2 separate regions of the Homo sapiens genome follow, and region 1 is linked to region 2. Evidence: promoter capture Hi-C in 16 types of primary human blood cells and fetal thymus (Javierre and others, 2016). All regions are on one chromosome and are shown on one strand. Each heading gives the region's core, a stretch centred on a gene start or on the middle of the fragment in contact. The rest is flanking DNA. Distances are from core to core; before and after follow the strand shown. Region 1 overlaps SLC44A5 (solute carrier family 44 member 5). Region 2 holds the start of RABGGTB (Rab geranylgeranyltransferase subunit beta).

What was found. Contacts are between HindIII fragments. The CHiCAGO score rates a contact against its expected background, and 5 or more counts as called.
Region 1: a contact is called between a fragment that was not itself captured here and the fragment with the promoter of RABGGTB in region 2, in 1 of 17 cell types (M2 macrophages). The highest score is 5.1, in M2 macrophages.

The regions. Positions count from the first base shown.
Region 1 is chr1:75,342,320-75,348,196 of GRCh38, reverse strand. The region is part of intron 3 of SLC44A5 (solute carrier family 44 member 5); the gene reads left to right. Among named protein-coding and RNA genes, the nearest start is that of LHX8, 210 kb to the right of the region's middle. The HindIII fragment of the contact is 1,500 bases long and covers 3,512-5,011 here.
Region 2 is chr1:75,783,637-75,789,025 of GRCh38, reverse strand. It overlaps RABGGTB (Rab geranylgeranyltransferase subunit beta), which reads right to left and starts at 2,770. Exons shown (of 9, transcript NM_004582.4): 1 at 2,752-2,770; 2 at 1,422-1,529. The coding sequence starts at 2,754. SNORD45C (small nucleolar RNA, C/D box 45C) reads right to left here and starts at 1,954; the gene lies at 1,877-1,954. SNORD45A (small nucleolar RNA, C/D box 45A) reads right to left here and starts at 1,137; the gene lies at 1,054-1,137. RefSeq lists a silencer at 2,679-2,738 and enhancers at 2,799-3,028, 3,969-4,188. The HindIII fragment of the contact is 7,492 bases long and covers 2,040-5,389 here.

The sequences.
Region 1 (5,877 bases), core at 3,012-5,511, 440 kb after region 2:
TTTTTAGTTGCTTTGACAGAGAGAGAGAGAGAGAAAGAGAGAGAGAGGAGAGAGAGAGAGAGAGAAGGGAGCCTACAATACTTTTGGAATTGAAGCTAGCAGGTATAGTTTTTCCTTGCAGATTTATCCTCACAGTTTTCTACTACTGGCATCATGGAAGAATATGAGGCAAATCCATTTTCTTAAATGCTAGGTTTTCCTTCTCTAGTCTTTCACTCTCTCTTCCAAATCTATGCAGAATATAACAGAAATAATCCCAAGGTTTTCTTTTGACAATTAGTTCACAATATGTTCAGTCTCTTTACAAAAAATCCATTTTGTGAGAAAAAAATTTCATCGACATTTCTGCCTCACATATGGTCCACAGAATTTACAAGTATATAAAATCCAGGCTATTGTATCTTTGACTTTAGCCAAGGAGATACAACTCCAAAAGAGGGTGAGATCAGCTCTAGGCATCTATTTCTTATGATTATCTTAATCTGTAACACACACACACACACACACACACTCACCACCACTCCCTTAGCCCTGGGAAAGAAGATCTCTCCTCTCTCTCTGTCTCTTTCTCTCTCTCTCAATAACAGCTTATAATGGATAATACAATAGGTTGTATGTATCTCTGTTGTCTGCTGTTTCTCCTGTTTATAGTTCTAAGTGACTGGCCTGACCCATTGGTGAGAGATCGTAGTTTACCACCATTTTTGCTCAATTACCCTGTAAATAGAAGCATCCATGTGATACAGATTCTAATAGAATACTCCACCTGTAGTTTTTATTTGTTAGATCATGATGTATTGTGGGTAGAAATTGTGCACTAAAACATGTTTTCTTTCCTACACTTTAGGCCCAGGAATAGGGATGTTTTCCCAGTGATTATTAACGTCTATCTTCTTGAGTTGTGGCAAAAGTCAGAGTTGATAAGCAGTTTAATTTTATTCTCATCAATAACCTGTGGGTGATATGAGGAAGCAGGAGAGATGTTATCACTAGCTACCAAACTGCTTTAGGCACTTGTGATAAACTGACAAACTCTTGCTGTTTTTCTTTAGTGGTATTTATTCTTAAGTTTAATAGAAAGTCTTTTACTTGGCTATAACTTTAAAGACAATTTTCCCCTTCTTACAGAAGAACTTAATTCTTATATTTATTTAATGATGAAAATTATCATTTTCCCCAATCTTTATTCATTTACTGTGCCGCTGCCTGAACTCCGCACTCAGAAAAGCAAGATGAAGTCACTTGTTTTATATTTAGGGCGAATGCGTATGCTGTTCGTTTTCCATCTTTAATTGTGAAGTTGTTATTTTTTTTAGAAGGTAGGGGAAAAGGGCCTGGCATGATAATGAATTGCATAACCTTTGAAACTAGAGGAAAATAAGGAATTGTTTCAATGTAATTAGAGTATTTCATAGGTCTTTTTTTTTGAGTGATTCATGTTGAGCAATAAAATACAAATATAGCTAGAAAGAAATGTTAGAAAACCCAAGTTGATAACCTTCAAGCTCAATTCATGTTCTTGTTTGCTTCCAGACTTTCTTTTTAAATCACTATTGATTCAGAATTTATTTATTCTGAGATGATGTGTGATTATCCAATAATTCATGGCTGTTCTATAGCACAAATTCACTGCTTTGTCACACTAATCAAGAAAAATCAGTTTTTCAAAAGTGCATTTCAAATGCCCCCTAAACGTCCATTCTTCAGCACTGCCTATAAAATCAGTCTGTTAAGAGGCAGCCTGAGTGCTTTATATATTTTTTCTTTTGAGGTGCTTCTTTTAGTTGTTACTTCTAAGGTTATAACTGAATTGTTTATGATTTGTGTTCATATAGAGCAAATTATTTCAAATGATGATGCAAACTACTTAAAAAACATCCTAGTGATTTGGAAAATGTTTCTTAAAACAGGAGATTTGACATTCTTGGTAGAATATAAGGTGATTCATCATCTCTTATTTAGGAAGTTACTCAGACTGGGAGGAAAAACAACCATCATAGGTCATGATACCACTGTATTGTTTGGTTTGAAATCAGTGCTGAAGGAATCTCATTTGCATTTCCATTAATCATGCCATGTCCAATGTGGGGTCATGTTTCTGCCTGAGATGAGTTTTGGGAATGCTCATCATTTTCTGCATGAGGCGTTGTCATCATTAGGTGATGATGTAGGGTACCATGCCCTTTCTTTCACCCCCAACAAATGTATTCCTCTGTAATGCTTCCTGAATTACCTCATCCTCTCTCACAGCTACAGCCTCAGCCAGGCATCTACCATCTTATGTCTGAAATACAACAGCCATTTCCTCATTGATTCATCTGCCTTAACTTTCTTATTTCCTCTGCATCAAATATATAAACACATAACAATTATGTTGCTTATTTAGAAGACTTTGGGGGTGGTGTAAGTCCTTCTCCAACTCCTGGTAATGTGCTTAATTCCTCTAACTGCTGTCATGTCTTGTTCCCTAGGCATAGCTCTTTGTTACAGCTAAGTATGTGCTGTTGTCTAGCTTTCACACATGACACATTCTTTCCTCTAAGTATGGTTAAAATTTCTCTCCTTCTAAAAGTTATTCCATAACCATCACACCCAGCTTAGTCACTGAAATCCTTCTAGAATTATTGGTATTATTTGTAGCCAACGTGTCAATTCAACAAGTTGGTTTGTACTGATTCTACACTGATCGCTTTAGTTATGTGGGTAATTTACATTTTACTGTTTCCCATATTAGTTGGTCCCCTCTGAAGGTAGAAATTGTTTCCCAACTTTTTTTCCCTCCATTATCTATCATTTTATGGATGAAAAAATGGAAGGTTAGAGGGGCAAAAAGTAATTCTCCCAAGATCATACTGCTTATAGATGGTAGAAATAACATTTTATACCAGTTAATTTGATACCCAGTTTTTATTCACCAATATGGGATACTTTCTCCCTTACTTCCTTTGTCAGCTTCTACTTGCCTTGACATTACAATCAGATACTGAATTAGTGTTGGTGATAAGGGGAGTAATTTTTCACATCGGTGCACTTCTAGGAGTCTATTAACTTCCTTTAATCTAAGTTGAAATTTATCTAAAGTGATTTGCTGGTGACTGCCAAGATTGATCCTTTAGTTGTATTTTCATAATCTAAATTAAATATATAAGATATCAAAATTACATTGACATTCTTTTAAAACTTATCTTGTAAATATTTACTGAATGCCTGCTATGTGTACAACAGGCACTAATGTAGGTAACAGGAACAGAGAAATAACCAAGATCTCATTTCTGCCCTAGAGAAACTATGTAGTAATCCAGTAGGATAAATAGCCATGTGTATTAGCTTCCTATTGCTGTGGTAATGAATTACCACACAATTCTAAGTGTGGCTTAGAAAAACACAAATTTATTATCTTACGATTCTAGATGTTAGAAGTCCAAAATACATCTCAATGAGCTAAAATCAAGGGATTAGCAGGATGTCCAGGGGAGATCCATTTTCTTACTTTTTCCAGGTTCTAGAAGCTTCTGTATTCCTTGGCTAATGACTCTCTTACATCTTTAAAGCCAGAAATAGCCAGTTGAGTTTTTCTAACATTGCATCTTTCCAACCTTGTTTCTGTTGTCACATTTCCTTCTTTGACTCATCTGCCTCCCTTTTCCCTATAGAAGTACCCTTGTGATCACATTGGGCTCACCCAGATAAACCAGGCTAATCTCACCATTTCATGGTCCTTAATTTATTCACATCTGCAAAATCCCTTTCCTTATATTAGGTAACATTTACAGGGTCCAGGGATTAGGATGTGAACATCTTTGGGAGGCCATTATTCTGTCTACCACAACATGAAAACAGATAACCTGTATTATAGTGTCCTAAGCTCAACAATGCAAATGGAAGTACTGTGTCTCAGAGATTAATGGAATTAGCTGCTTTGGAATGGAATTCTTTGAAAGTTCTCAGGATTCTTCTCCTGTCAAAGTGGGTGGAATTCACTTTGGCCCACTTTGGCACAGTGGCCAGTAGAATGTCTTTGTTCTTGTCCTTCTTGAGAATCAGTAGGAAGTTTGTGAGGGGAAGTGTAGGCCTCCTTTAGCCATCACCAAGGGAATAAGGAGGAGAAAGTCACATTGCTCAGAGGGAACAGAATATGAATATGAAAAGGGGGGAACCATACATAGTACAGAATTGCATAAGATCAAGTTAAAAGAGGGGCATTATAAGAAATAAGACTGGTGAGATGAGCCATATCGTAAAAAGCCATGTGTGTTGGGCTAAGAAGTGGGAACATCATCCTGTAAGAAATGGCTAAGAACATGATTCCTTATTATTTGGTGGGACTTAGAGGAAAACAGAACCCTTTCTTTGAATGAAATGACAGGCCCTCTTTTATAGACATACTATAAAGCATGTTTTAAAAATAAAACAAAACACGTACTTAAGTATTCACATTTCTCTGCTGGCTATTGTTGTATATTAAAGTCTTAATTTTGTACTGCTCCATTTTTCCATGTTCACTGGAAAGTAATCTGACCTGCTTACTCACAGTAGGTCTCTTTTAAGTTCTAGAACATGTATTCATCCCACCTGAGTTCCTTTTTTGCTCTCTGAATTAATATTAGGTTCTCAGAAGGAGAATATTCCTGCAGGAATAAAATCAAATGTTTTGGATTTTTACTTTTTATAGCTTATCAATGGTAGTTATATTGTCATTTTCTTTGAGAAACAGATTACTTTTAAAGAAAAGAGTCTTTCTAAGCATCACTGGCTGCTTTATCTTGCCATTTGCTTTCAATGGAGCCATGTGAAATCTGCCCCTATGAATTGAATTAGTTACCTGAACTATTTTCCTTAATCTTCATGAATTATTTCTGGTTTGGAAATTGCATTGTATGGCTGCAATACCAACTGTTAACCACCACAACAAATGTGTAGCTGTCTTTTATAAATGTTTTTCAATGATTCTAAATTTACTGTTGCAAGACAATAAACTTGGTGATCAGAAAGTCAAATGACTTAAGAAGCTTATAAAATATTATATAATTTTAGGGTTTTTTGTCTTTAAGTGAGAAATATGAATTGCATTCAAGGAGCTAAGCCACATGACAGCGAACCACTGTGGCTTTTTTCATTTAGCTGGCCCTTCAGTCTATTTATTCCAGAGACGCAATTAGAGTACGTGAGGGCCCCTATAAAAGCACTGCCCTCTATTGATTTGCAGGATATAAAAAATTTGCATGACAATACAAATTCTGACAGCACATGGGGGCAGGGTGAAGTAATCACTTTCCAGCTGTCATTACTATACAGAATCAGCTCAATCTTATCATCTGACTGGTTTTGGTGTATTTTCAACTGAAAAATAAAGCAGCCAGTATTTACAATCAGAAAATGTCAGCTTTTCAGGCAGATTCGACAATGGCATTTCATTTACACTGCAATCCACTTTCTCACTTGGTGAGGTACAAATCACAGGAAGATTGGAAGCCAGCCTAAATACTTTTAAGCTGGTTTTGCCTACCTTTAATGTAAACAGCAAATAATTACAAAATCAATAGAAGTTGTTAACCCCTTTAAACCTGTCTTCTCCTTACTCATCTGTGGGATTACTTTAAAATGACCAGTGAGTAACTTACTGCTAAATGGTTCAACACAGGCTTTGTTTGGAGTTGGACAGTCTGCCTTCCAATGCCACCTCCGCCTCTTGTTAGCTGAGTGAGCTAGGGAAAATTATCTCACCTTTCTGTACCCCAACTTCCTCATTTGTAAAATAGAATAATAATAATGGCATATTTTATTACATTGAAATGGCATGAATTTTTAGAAACATTAAATGACATAATAAATACACTAGGGCTATTGCATTGCAGTGCTCAGAGAAGTACAATTCAC
Region 2 (5,389 bases), core at 1,521-4,020:
TGAGTTTAAAATCTGTGCTGCTCAATGTTAGAAGCCATCTTCAGACACAACTATTATCAGAAAAAAACAATTATCTGAGAAGCACAGGATTAGTTAATCTATGGCTGACAATACAAACAGTGCTTTAGTTTCTCCCATGAGCCAGAGACAGAAAAACATCTACCTTTTTCATCAGTGAAGTTCAGGGAGAGTATTTCTTTCCGAGTACCTATACCATATTTATCAGACATCTATTTTAATGTGGACTCTGTACAAAACCTATTATCTATTAGTAAATTATATAACTACATGAAAAATCAAAATGCCCTAAACATGCCAAAGATGTTTAAGCCCAGATAAAACAGTGGCTAATCAATGATACATGAAAATTAGTATTAGGATTCCAGAAACAAATTTTTCCCACACTCAACAATGCATTATATTTTAAGAAGTTTTGTGGCTGGGTGGTGGCTCCTGCCTGTAATCCCAGCACTTTGGAAAGCTGGGGCAGGCAGATCACTTGAGGTCAGGAGTTTGAGACCACTCTGGCCAACATAGCAAAACTCAGTCTCTACGAAAAATACAAAAACTAGCTGGGCATGGTGGAATGTGCCTGTAATCCCAGCTATTCAGGTGGCTCACTTAAACCCAGGAGATGGAGGCTGCAGTGAGCCCAGATCGCACCGCTGTCCTCCAGTCTGGGCAACAAAGTGAGGTTATAGCTCTCAAAAGGAAAAAAAGAAGTTTTTTTAACAGGTGGTGCATCTTAGTTTGCTACTAACCCAAATTCAGGGCATAAAGATAGATAGCAGATAAAGGCAGAAACGAGTCCAGCCCCATCCATATGGCCTTAACTCCATGATTGCTAATAGAGTATTTTCAAGGTTATGGGAACCTAACACTTAAGTAAAAAATTAATACATACCATATATCCCACAAATCGGTAGACTAAGACAACTGAGTTTGGATACTACAGGGAAAAACATTTACTCTTAACTAAGTTGTTTACTACTTTTTGCTAAGATTGTCCCAGAGTTTTCCTCGAAATTTAAAAATTTAAGGTAAAACTTTTTCAAGGTCTCAGAGTAATTCTAGAGCTAAAGTGTTATTACACATCAGCAATAGATTCAGATAATACATGCCAACACATCATTGACCTTGAAAGTATTACCCCTAACTACAAAAAGAGAAACCCGTTTTGTACCTCAAACCCTCATCTACTTTGTCTGGCAAGCCCTCTCAGTATAGGTAAAAACTGAGATTCTAATAAGCCCACAGCCTCAGACGTCCAAAGCACACTTAACTGAAGTTCAAAGGCACAGCACATCCTCAGTTCTCTGCATGGAGTTGGATGCCATTTTAAGACATAAATACTGTCTCACTGCTTATGACTGTCACACTTCTTTAAAATAAACTTTCCAACATAAAAAAATTATACATACATAATCATCTTTCTTTGAGCCATAGGATGCGATATAATCTGCATGTTTCTCCAATAACAAAGTGTCCGGTGCATCTGACTTGATAATAACATCCTTCTGTGGAGTGCCCTTTCAAAATAAAGTGGTAATCTCATCAATGTTTACCTCTACAACGTTCTTCTGCCCCACAGCATAGATTCAACATACATCTCAATTTTCACTTGATTTCATCTTGTAATAGGAAAACGTTCCATTTAAAAATTGTAACTAACTAGGGAGGCTGAGGTAGAAGATCGCTTGAGCCAGGGAAATTAAGGCTGCAGTGAACTGAGGTTGTGTCACTGCACTCCATCCTGGGCGACCGGAGACCGACTCAAAAACAAAACCAAAACAACAACAACAACAACAAATTGTATCCAACAAAAAAGAACTTAAATCATTCAGGCTTCGTCTTAGTCACGATTCAGGTAATTTTCAGGTCTCAGAGTAATTCTAGAGCTAAAGTAGTAATAATCAACTTTAGATTCAGAATACATGCCAACTCATCATTGACCCAAAAAATTACCACCAGCATTTCTTGTTGTTCACTTTTCATTCAAAAAGATAAGTAAAAAATAAACACCATAGAATATCAAAGCTTATCATTTCAGGACAACTTACGGTTTACATGTGGCAGAAAGCATATTTTTAAAAAATAAAAAAATCTAACCCTTAACTTGCAAGCGAATTCTTGCTTAATCAAATGCAGGTTTCAAAGCACCTTCTAAGTACCCCAAAAGTTGTTCAAATGTATTAAATAAGCAGTTCCTTTAGCTCCATCTTCTCCACCTTTAATCCGAGTCTCTGTATTTGCAGAAGTCCCCATGTGATGCGGCTCTAGTTCTTTTCGTATCTATATCTTCCTCATTGAGAGTACACTGCAGTCACTATAACAGGTCATGAAGATTACCGGAAGTGATTAAGTACCGAATTTTCTTCTGATCCCATTAAAAATCTTAAAGCGAGACCACATCACTAACGATTTTAAAGAAATCTTTGACACCCCCTCTCCAAGAAAAAAAAAAGCCACCAATCAGCCACAGCTTTTTAGAGGGGTTCAGAAATCGGGCTGCTCAACTCTTAACAGGCCCTCCCTACAGAAGAAGGCCTGGATAAAATTAGAAGCGGCATTGCCCGCGAGGTCTGCAGAAAACGCTGAGTAATATTTCACACTCAAAAAACCTTCCAAGGCCTGTGTCCTAACCATTCTCCAGCACCAGGAAACCAATCCTAAGGTGACCAGTGTGCTTAACCCTACTCCACCCTGTCTGCTACCAACCCATCCGGACAGCAGCGCTAAACTCACACTTACCATGTCTAACAGGGAAAGGAGAGAGCAGGGTCAGTTCCTGGGTAGACTTAGGAGCCGGGCGCCTGCGCAGATGCGCCTCTCAGGCCCCCATCGCGCTCCGATATAGCTGACCACACTTTCGCCTGCAAGGCAGAGCAGTTCCACGGCTGCCGTAGGACCCCACTGATCGCTCATAGGTGTCCTCACTGCCTGCGTCCAAAGTCCTGCGACCATATGCTTGTCCCATAGTCACTCCGATTTGTCTAGAAACAGTTTTAAATAATATTTAAATATCTGAGTTGCTTTTAAGAAATCATTTGTTCTAGCTGGACGCGGTGGCTTACGCCTGTAATCCCAGCACTTTGGGAAGCCGGACAGCAGGATTGCTTGATCCTAGGAGTGTAACCACCCAATATTGTGGTTCACTTTGCCTGCTGCTGACCGATAGCCCATTTATCAAGACAGGGGACTTGCAATGGAGTCTCCCCAAGCAGTATTCAGAGTTTTTAAAGATAATTCGGCGATTAGGGGCTTGGGAAGTAGGGAGTGCTGATGGGTCAGGTTGGAGATGGACTCATAGTGGGTAGACGTGAGTTTTTCTTGCTGTTTTCTGTTCCTGGGTAGGATGGCAGAACTGGTTGAGCCAAATTACCAATCTGGGTGGTTTCAACTGATCCATGGAGAGCAGGGTCTGCAAAATATCTCAAGAACTTATCTTAGGTTTTACAATAGTGATGTTATCCCCAGGAGCAATTTGGGGAGGTTCAGAAACTTGGAGCCAGAGGCTGCATGACCTCTAAACTGTAATTTCTAATCTTGTAGCTAATCTGTTGGTTCTGCAAAGGCAGACTGGTCCCCAGGCAAAAAAGCGGTCTTTTTGGGAAAGGGATATTATCAATTTTGTTTCAGAGTCAAACCATAAACTGAATTCCTCCCTAAATTGGTTCAGCCTAGGCTCAGGAATGAAGAAGGACAGCTTAAAAGTTAGAAGCGGCCGGTGGCTCACGCCTGTAATCCCAGCACTTTGGGAGGCCAAGGCGGGCGGATCACGAGGTCAGGGGATCGAGACCATCCTGGCTAAAACCCCGTCTCTACTACAAATACAAAAAATTAGCCGGGCGTGGGGGTGGGCGCCTGTAGTCCCATCTACTCCTGAGGTTGAGGCAGGAGAATGGCTTAAACCCGGGAGGCGGAGCTTGCAGTGAGCAGAGATCACGCCACTGCACTCCACCCTGGGCGACAGAGCGAGACTAGTCTCAAAAACAAAAGTTAGAAGCAAGATGGAATCCGTTAGGTCTGATTTCTTTCACTGCCATAATTTCCTCAGTTATAATTTTGCAAAGGCGGTTCCAGGAGATCCAGACCAGCCTGGGCAATGTTGCAAGACCCCCGTCTCTACAAATAATAAAAATATGAGCCAGACGTGGTTGCCCAAGCCTGTGGTTTCAGCTACTGGGGAAGCTGAGGTGAGAGAATTACTTGAGCTGTGGGGCAGGGGGTGGAGGCTACAGTGAGCGGTGATAATGCCACTGCACTGCAGGGTGTGAGACAGAACGAGACCATGTCTCAAAAAAATAAATCATTTGTTCTTGAGGCCCTTTGCACTCTGAAAATCTGAAATGGCTGTTAATTAGTAGAGTGCCTGCTTACACGTAGTAAGTGTTCAATGAATATTTTTTAAATGAATATTAATGAAATGTTCACATTTCCTTCCTGTTTGCCTTATCTATCTCAAGGTCCAGCCCTGTACCCGCCCCCTCTCCTCGCCACACACACAGGCCACCCTCCCCACCACCACCACCGCCACCACAAACACTTCTTCGGAGAGTGCTAATAGTAAAAATATTGGAAGTTACTTTTTTTAAAAAAATTATACTGTAAGTTCTAGGGTACATGTGTACAACGTGTAGGTTTGTTACATGGATATACATGTGCCAGGTTGGATTGCTGCACCCATTAACTCATCATTTAAATTAGGTATTTCTCCTAATGCTATCCTTCCCCCCTCCCCCAACACCATGACAGGCCCCTGTGTGTGATGTTCCCTGCCCTGTGTCCAGGTATTCTCATTCTTCAATTCCCACCTATGAGTGAGAATATGCGGTGTTTGGTTTTCTATCCTTGTGATACTTTGCTCAGAATAATGGTTTCCAGCTTCATCCATGACCCCACAAAGGACATGAACTCATCCTTTTTTATGGTTGCATAGTATTCCATGGTGTATATGTGCCACATTTTCTTAATCCACTCTATCGTTGATGACATTTGAGTTGGATCCAAGTCTTTGCTATTGTGAATAGTGCCCAATAAACATACGTGTGCATGTGTGTTTATAATCTTTGGGTATATACCCCGTAATGGGATCACTGGGTCAAATGCTATTTCTAGTTCTAGATCCTTGAGGAATCACAACACTGTCTTCCACAGTGGTTGAACTACTTTACACTCCCACCAACAATGTAAAAGTGTTCCTATTTCTCCACATCTTATCCAGCTTCTGTTGTTTCCTGACTTTGTTTTTCTTCCTTTTCTTCAACTTCTATTTTATTTTGATTTTTTTTATTATTATTTAAGTTTTACGGTACATGTGCACAACGTGCAGGTTTGTTACATATGTATACATGTGCCATGTTGGTGTGCTGCACCCATTAACTCGTCA